Regions from separate parts of the Homo sapiens genome. Here region 1 is linked to region 2. Evidence: promoter capture Hi-C in 16 types of primary human blood cells and fetal thymus (Javierre and others, 2016). All regions are on one chromosome and are shown on one strand. Each heading gives the region's core, a stretch centred on a gene start or on the middle of the fragment in contact. The rest is flanking DNA. Distances are from core to core; before and after follow the strand shown. Region 1 overlaps ANKS1B (ankyrin repeat and sterile alpha motif domain containing 1B). Region 2 holds the start of GARIN6 (golgi associated RAB2 interactor family member 6).

Region 1 (2,702 bases), core at 27-2,526, 590 kb before region 2:
AATTAGTAACCTATTTGTTTACCCAGGAAAGAAAAAATAAGCCCAAAGACAAAACTAAAATTCATATATATATATATATATGATAGGACGTGTAGACTAAAGGTCAGATGGCATTCACATTTCTTTCATGTATCTTCAGCAGTACCCACAGGGAGCACTGTGACTGCATTCTCAAATTAGCAATGATGAAACTTTTTTTCCAGCGGGAACATCTGGCAAGACAGGGCTAGGAAGTGACAGCTCCATCGGCCTGCCAGGCCAGCAGTGCTGCTAAGCATGAACGGAAGTCAGGCTCACTCTATAATCTGAGAGGCAGAGTGGTGAGCAGGCAGCAGGCATTCATTACAGAGGCTCGCAACAAGGCAATTTGATTCAATTAGTTGAATTCCAAAGTCTGGAAAAACCTAAGCTGAGACAGAAATTCGAGATAGCAGTGAAGCTTTAGTCTTGGGAAAATTGAGATATATTAACATATTTTTTTTTTGCCAAATGCCTTCCTTGTTCTTGTTCCACCCAAATGACTTTCCTCCAGGAGTTTTTTAGAGCATACTTGGCCTCAGAGAGAGTATGCTGTTAACATCACAGGTGGTACAGCAGGCAGAGAAACCACAGGACAGTACTCTGTGGAGTTCTGGGTTTGAGGGGGTCAGCTACGGGGCAGCTGAACAACCCATGCTCTGAGACTGCTTGATCGACTTCAACCAGAGTAACTCTTATTTTATGCGTTTTATACAAGTAAGAGGAAGAAAGGTTTTCTCGGCTTTAAAAAGAAATGTTTGAAAACCACGAATCTAGAAGACTTTTGTAAGATTACATGACCACTATGATTTTATTTTCTCTTAACTTTTTAGCTTTATTTGAAATATTATGGATCTGTTATATATATGTGGTTATATATATATATACACACATATACATATATACACATCACACACACACACACACACACACACACACACACACACACACACACACATATATATAGAGAGAGAGAGCCTGTCATTCCATCATTCTTTCTCTTTGCCTGAAGCCAGCATTTTCTGTGCAGATAAGGATAATATCTTATGAGATGACGGAGCCACAGGATGGAAGGTATAGCAGGAGGAAGGCAATAAAAACAGGTAAAAAAAATAAAAAGAGAGAGAAAGGTGATATACATTATAATAGCTTTGGGATTAAATGAGAAAAGTAGTTCTTGATGGGACAACTTATTAACCTAGAATTATGATATTGGCATGGTATTTAGAACAAGAGGATAAGGAACCCTGAAAAGCCAATAATGGATTAGACAGGCATTTTTATGTCCAAAAGTGTTAGAAAATTGAGAAAAAGACTACTTGTTGTTCCCTTAAACTTGTCCTCTCTTCTTCCACATAATGGGGTTAAATTGGGTTCATGCCTGCCGGACTAGAGACAAGATACATCAGCTTTTTTTCTGGTTGCTGCTGTGAAAATATGGTTGAGCCTGTGGAATGCTAATGAAAGTGTTGCATGTAACTTTCAGGTCACCTCTAGCTAAAAGAAGTTCCTCGACCTAGAATTCCTCTTTTTTCTTCATCTTCCTATAAGCTGGAACATCAGTGACTGCAGTTCAGCTTTGACTACACAGGCAAAACAATACCCTGGAGTCTGGGAAATGCTTCTCAGACCTCAACGTGCTTAGGAATCATGCAGAGAATCTTATTAGCAGACGATTCTAATTCCGTTATTTGGAGGGAGGATTGGAGATTCTGCATTTCTAACCAGCTTCCTGGTGATGCTAATGCTGTCAGCCCATGAACCACACTTTGAGTAGTAGTGCTTTGGAGGATGACAGAACAACAAATAGAAGGTCCTCGGTCCTTCCACAATTGCATAGAGCAAAGCCACCTTGTAAACCTGCACTGCTCATTTCAAGACTATTATATGAGAGAAATTAATATTCGATTCTTTAAACCACTATATTATGAATGTCTCTATTTCAGTATCATAGCCTTTCCTTGAATACAAACATAACTAAAAATAAGGCAGTTTCATGTAGAACATTTAAATGAAGCCTGTACTTCCATTTGACATTACATTGTATTATCTCTTGTTTTGTGGGGCCGTAAGTTTTCACATCTGTTATCGTTAAAGAAGCTTCATTTCCTTTAACTGTGTTTGTTGGCATTTCTCTGTCAATCACAGCATCATCCCTTTGTAACAACTATGCAAGGGATAAGAGGAGAAAAATGCAGGGAAACCCCAAGTTTCTAGCTTGGATATCTGGGCAAATGGTGGTGTTACCAGGTAAAAGAGAAAAGAAAATAGACTGGGATGACATGAATAATTTTGAGACATGAGAAATTTAAGATGCTATGCTGTGGAATGGCACTTTAAATTTGGAGAAGTCTGGGGAGACACGCGGCCTTGGGCATCATCAAAGTACAGGTAAGAGTGTTGGCAACTCCACTTATTAGCTATCTGACCTCGAGCAAATCACTCATACTTCCTAAGCATCCATTTTCTGATTAGTAATGTGAAAGATTAAAAGAATATCTATCGCTGAGCGTTGCCATATGTATTCAATGAAACTACACAAGGAGAATTTAGCACAATACTTGGCACACAGAAGCACTCAATAAATCTTTGTTATTTTTTTTCTGACAGCTGAAATCATGCACAGGTAGGACTGCAGAGGTGACTTTGTAGTGTGAGAAGAGAAGTGGCCTGAGAATGAACCA
Region 2 (3,023 bases), core at 320-2,819:
AAGTAACATAGACTTGAAGTGGAAGTTAAGATATAAAGACTTTAGGAAGGGCAGTAAAAAGTGCTATTGATATGTGAATAGGCATCTCAATAAATAAAATAAAAATACTCCAAGTATCCAAAATAATCAAACATTTCAATATGAAAGGAAGAAATTATGTTTGCATTGACTTATGCAACTAAAGACTCAAGTGGGCTGGGCACGGTGGCTCACACCTGTAATCCCAGCACTTGGGGGGCCAAGGCGGGCGAATCACGAGGTCAGGAGTTCGAGACCAGCCTGAGCAATATGGTGAAACCCCATCTCTACTAAAAATACAAATTAGCCGGGCGTGGTGGCACACGCCTGTAGTCCCAGCTACTAGGAAAGCTGATGCAGGAGAATCACTTGAACCCAGGAGGCGGAGGTTGCAGTGAGCCAAGATCACGCCACTGATTCCAGCCCGGGTGACAGAGTGAGACTCCATCTCAAAAAAAAAAAAAAAAAAAAAAAAAAAGACTCAACTATGGCTATGGCTCTGTGTGTGTGTGTGTGTTTGTGTTCACATGGGTTATCATGTGTACTGTCATTTCAATAAAGATATTATAATCTTATTGAATTGAAAATATTTGCAATACCTAGCAAAATTCTTTACAGCTTTTTTTTTTCTCAATACAATCTGATGGTAAAGAATAGAGCATAAATGTGATGTTTAAGGCTCTTTTCATTCCATAGCCAGGGTATGAATGTCTAGGTAAAACTCAAAAATTGCATCAACAGTTTGAGGGTGAGTCAAAACATAAAATTTATCATGGCTATAGAAACAGAAAAAAAAAAATACATTGCCAATAAAATAGTTATTTCCCCTGGTAACAGAAATAAATTTCCTAATAAAAATAGAAGTTAAAAAGAAAATGAAAATTATACCTAAGCACTTTAAACATTTCACTGAACATAATTCCATATCCACAAACACATACACGTGGTCTTACATAAATTGAATCTCACCTATACTATGAGTTTGAAATCAGTTTTTCTCTTATTCTTTAAGAAAAAAAAAGGTCAGGGATATCTTTTCATGTCAATAAATAGGAAAACTACGTAATCATTTTTAGGGCTGCAGACTGTCCCGTCACAGAAGCTCCATAATTTATTTAAGCAATCCCCTATTGTAAGACACTAATGCTGTTTATAATTTTTTACTCTACAACAAACATTGATAAACATCCTGTACCAATCTGTTTACCAATTTATCCAATTCTCTCTTTAAAATAAATGTCTACAACTAGAGGAGCTGGATAAATGAGTATACAGAGAATGTATATTAAACTCTTGCCTTGCACAGAAAATTTACCTCTAACCCTTTTGAAAGCAATTTGCCAGAATGCATTAAGGTCCCTAGATGGTAGGTTGGTGGCGGGGTAGTGGTCTGCTGAGCTGTGGAGGGCGGTGGGGCTGAGGGTGGGGTGGAGAGGGCGGTGCCCCTGCTCTGAGGCAGGGACTACTGGGTGACAGAGACAAAGGGGTGTGTGATGGGGCAGGTCACAATGGGTAGGGGAGGATAAAAGTGGTCCTGCGGGGTGGTTTAGCAGCAGTGGATGGTTCAGGTTGGGAAGAAGAGCAGTGGGATTGCCAGTTAAGGTTGTGGAATCAAAGAGCAAAGGCTGTTGTGAAGTGGAATATCAGGCTCAAATGGAGGTCCCTCCCGAATGAGCACTGACACCTGTGTGCCCGGACATCCACGAGGGCCCCAACACCTGTGCTCCTGACAGCTCCATGCACTAAGCAGGGCACAGTCTGGATCCAGGGGACTGACTGTCTCTGGCATTGAGCGGTTGGTAATCAATACCCCACCCTCCCTGTTCTCAGTCACTTGGGGACAAAAAAGAAAGCCTGCAGAACACGACTGCTGGCCCACCTGCCAGAGTAGCCAAGGAAACAGGATGCCCGCTAAAGCATGTTAAGGAAGGTGTGGAGCAGCTGCTGGGAACTGTCTTGATTTAAAGGAAGACATGGAGGACTGCTGTATGCTACCGTATTACACGGCCCAAAGCAGCCCCGCAATGGGCATGTTTAACACCTCCATGGGGAAGCTGCAGCGGCAACTGTACAAAGGCGAGTATACTATATTCAGGTATGCACCCATGTTTGAGAGCGACTTTATCCAGATCAGCAAAAGAGGAGAAGTGATTGACGTGCACAACCGTGCCCGAATGGTAACAATGGGCATCGTTCGCACCAGCCCCTGCCTCACACTACCTGATGTCATGCTGCTGGCCCGACCAGCTGCTGTCTGTGACAATGCCAGGTGTGGTCCTGCCACCCAGAAAAGAGAAAGTCCGCCTGCAGAGATCTTAGAACTAACCAGGCTGCTTCCCTTGATGTTTGTGAAAATAACCATCCACAACAGCGTAAAAAAACAGCTCCACCTGAAGCTTGCCACGGGCCGCTCTTTTTATCTTCAGCTGTGTCCTCCATCGGATGCAAGTGAAGACCTTTTTGTTCACTGGGAAAACCTTGTTTACATCCTGAGACCACCAGTGGAGGCTTACAGTGATACCAGGGCTATCCTAGCTGGGAACACATTGGACTCATCTGTGTTGGAGGAAGTGCAGAGGAGCCCAGTGGTGAGTCTATGCAGAGACTAGATGGGGCCTGGATGCTTTGGGGGAGAGCAGGTACAGGTCCTGTAAAGCCTTTGGTGCTGCAGCTCACCTGGGAAATGCATTGCATTTGGAAGGTCTGAAGGCCAAATGAGCTTCCATTTGGAGGCCATGGTACATTGAGGAGGTTCCTAGTGCTTCTCCAGGGTTCTCCAAGCCTGAATTTCAGAGATTTCTTAGCTGTCAGCAACTCTTCATTTTATATCCACAGCTGTTCATTTTATATCAATGTTGTAATGCTGTCCAAAGCATCCTGACCAGTCTATTCTGAAACACATACTATGACCTAGGCAGGCTGATATGTTGTAGGACGTGTCTCCCTGCAATTGCCACTTATATACATTGGTGGCAACACAACATGTTTGTGTACTTGTGCAATAA

What was found. Contacts are between HindIII fragments. The CHiCAGO score rates a contact against its expected background, and 5 or more counts as called.
Region 1: a contact is called between a fragment that was not itself captured here and the fragment with the promoter of GARIN6 in region 2, in 1 of 17 cell types (M1 macrophages). The highest score is 6.5, in M1 macrophages.

Annotation. Positions count from the first base shown.
Region 1 is chr12:99,059,726-99,062,427 of GRCh38, forward strand. All of the region lies in intron 16 of ANKS1B (ankyrin repeat and sterile alpha motif domain containing 1B), which reads right to left. Among named protein-coding and RNA genes, the nearest start is that of APAF1, 420 kb to the left of the region's middle. The HindIII fragment of the contact is 1,679 bases long and covers 438-2,116 here.
Region 2 is chr12:99,646,184-99,649,206 of GRCh38, forward strand. It overlaps GARIN6 (golgi associated RAB2 interactor family member 6), which reads left to right and starts at 1,570. Exons shown (of 2, transcript NM_153364.4): 1 at 1,570-2,606. The coding sequence starts at 1,992. The region is part of intron 9 of ANKS1B (ankyrin repeat and sterile alpha motif domain containing 1B); the gene reads right to left. The HindIII fragment of the contact is 12,136 bases long and covers 1-2,412 here.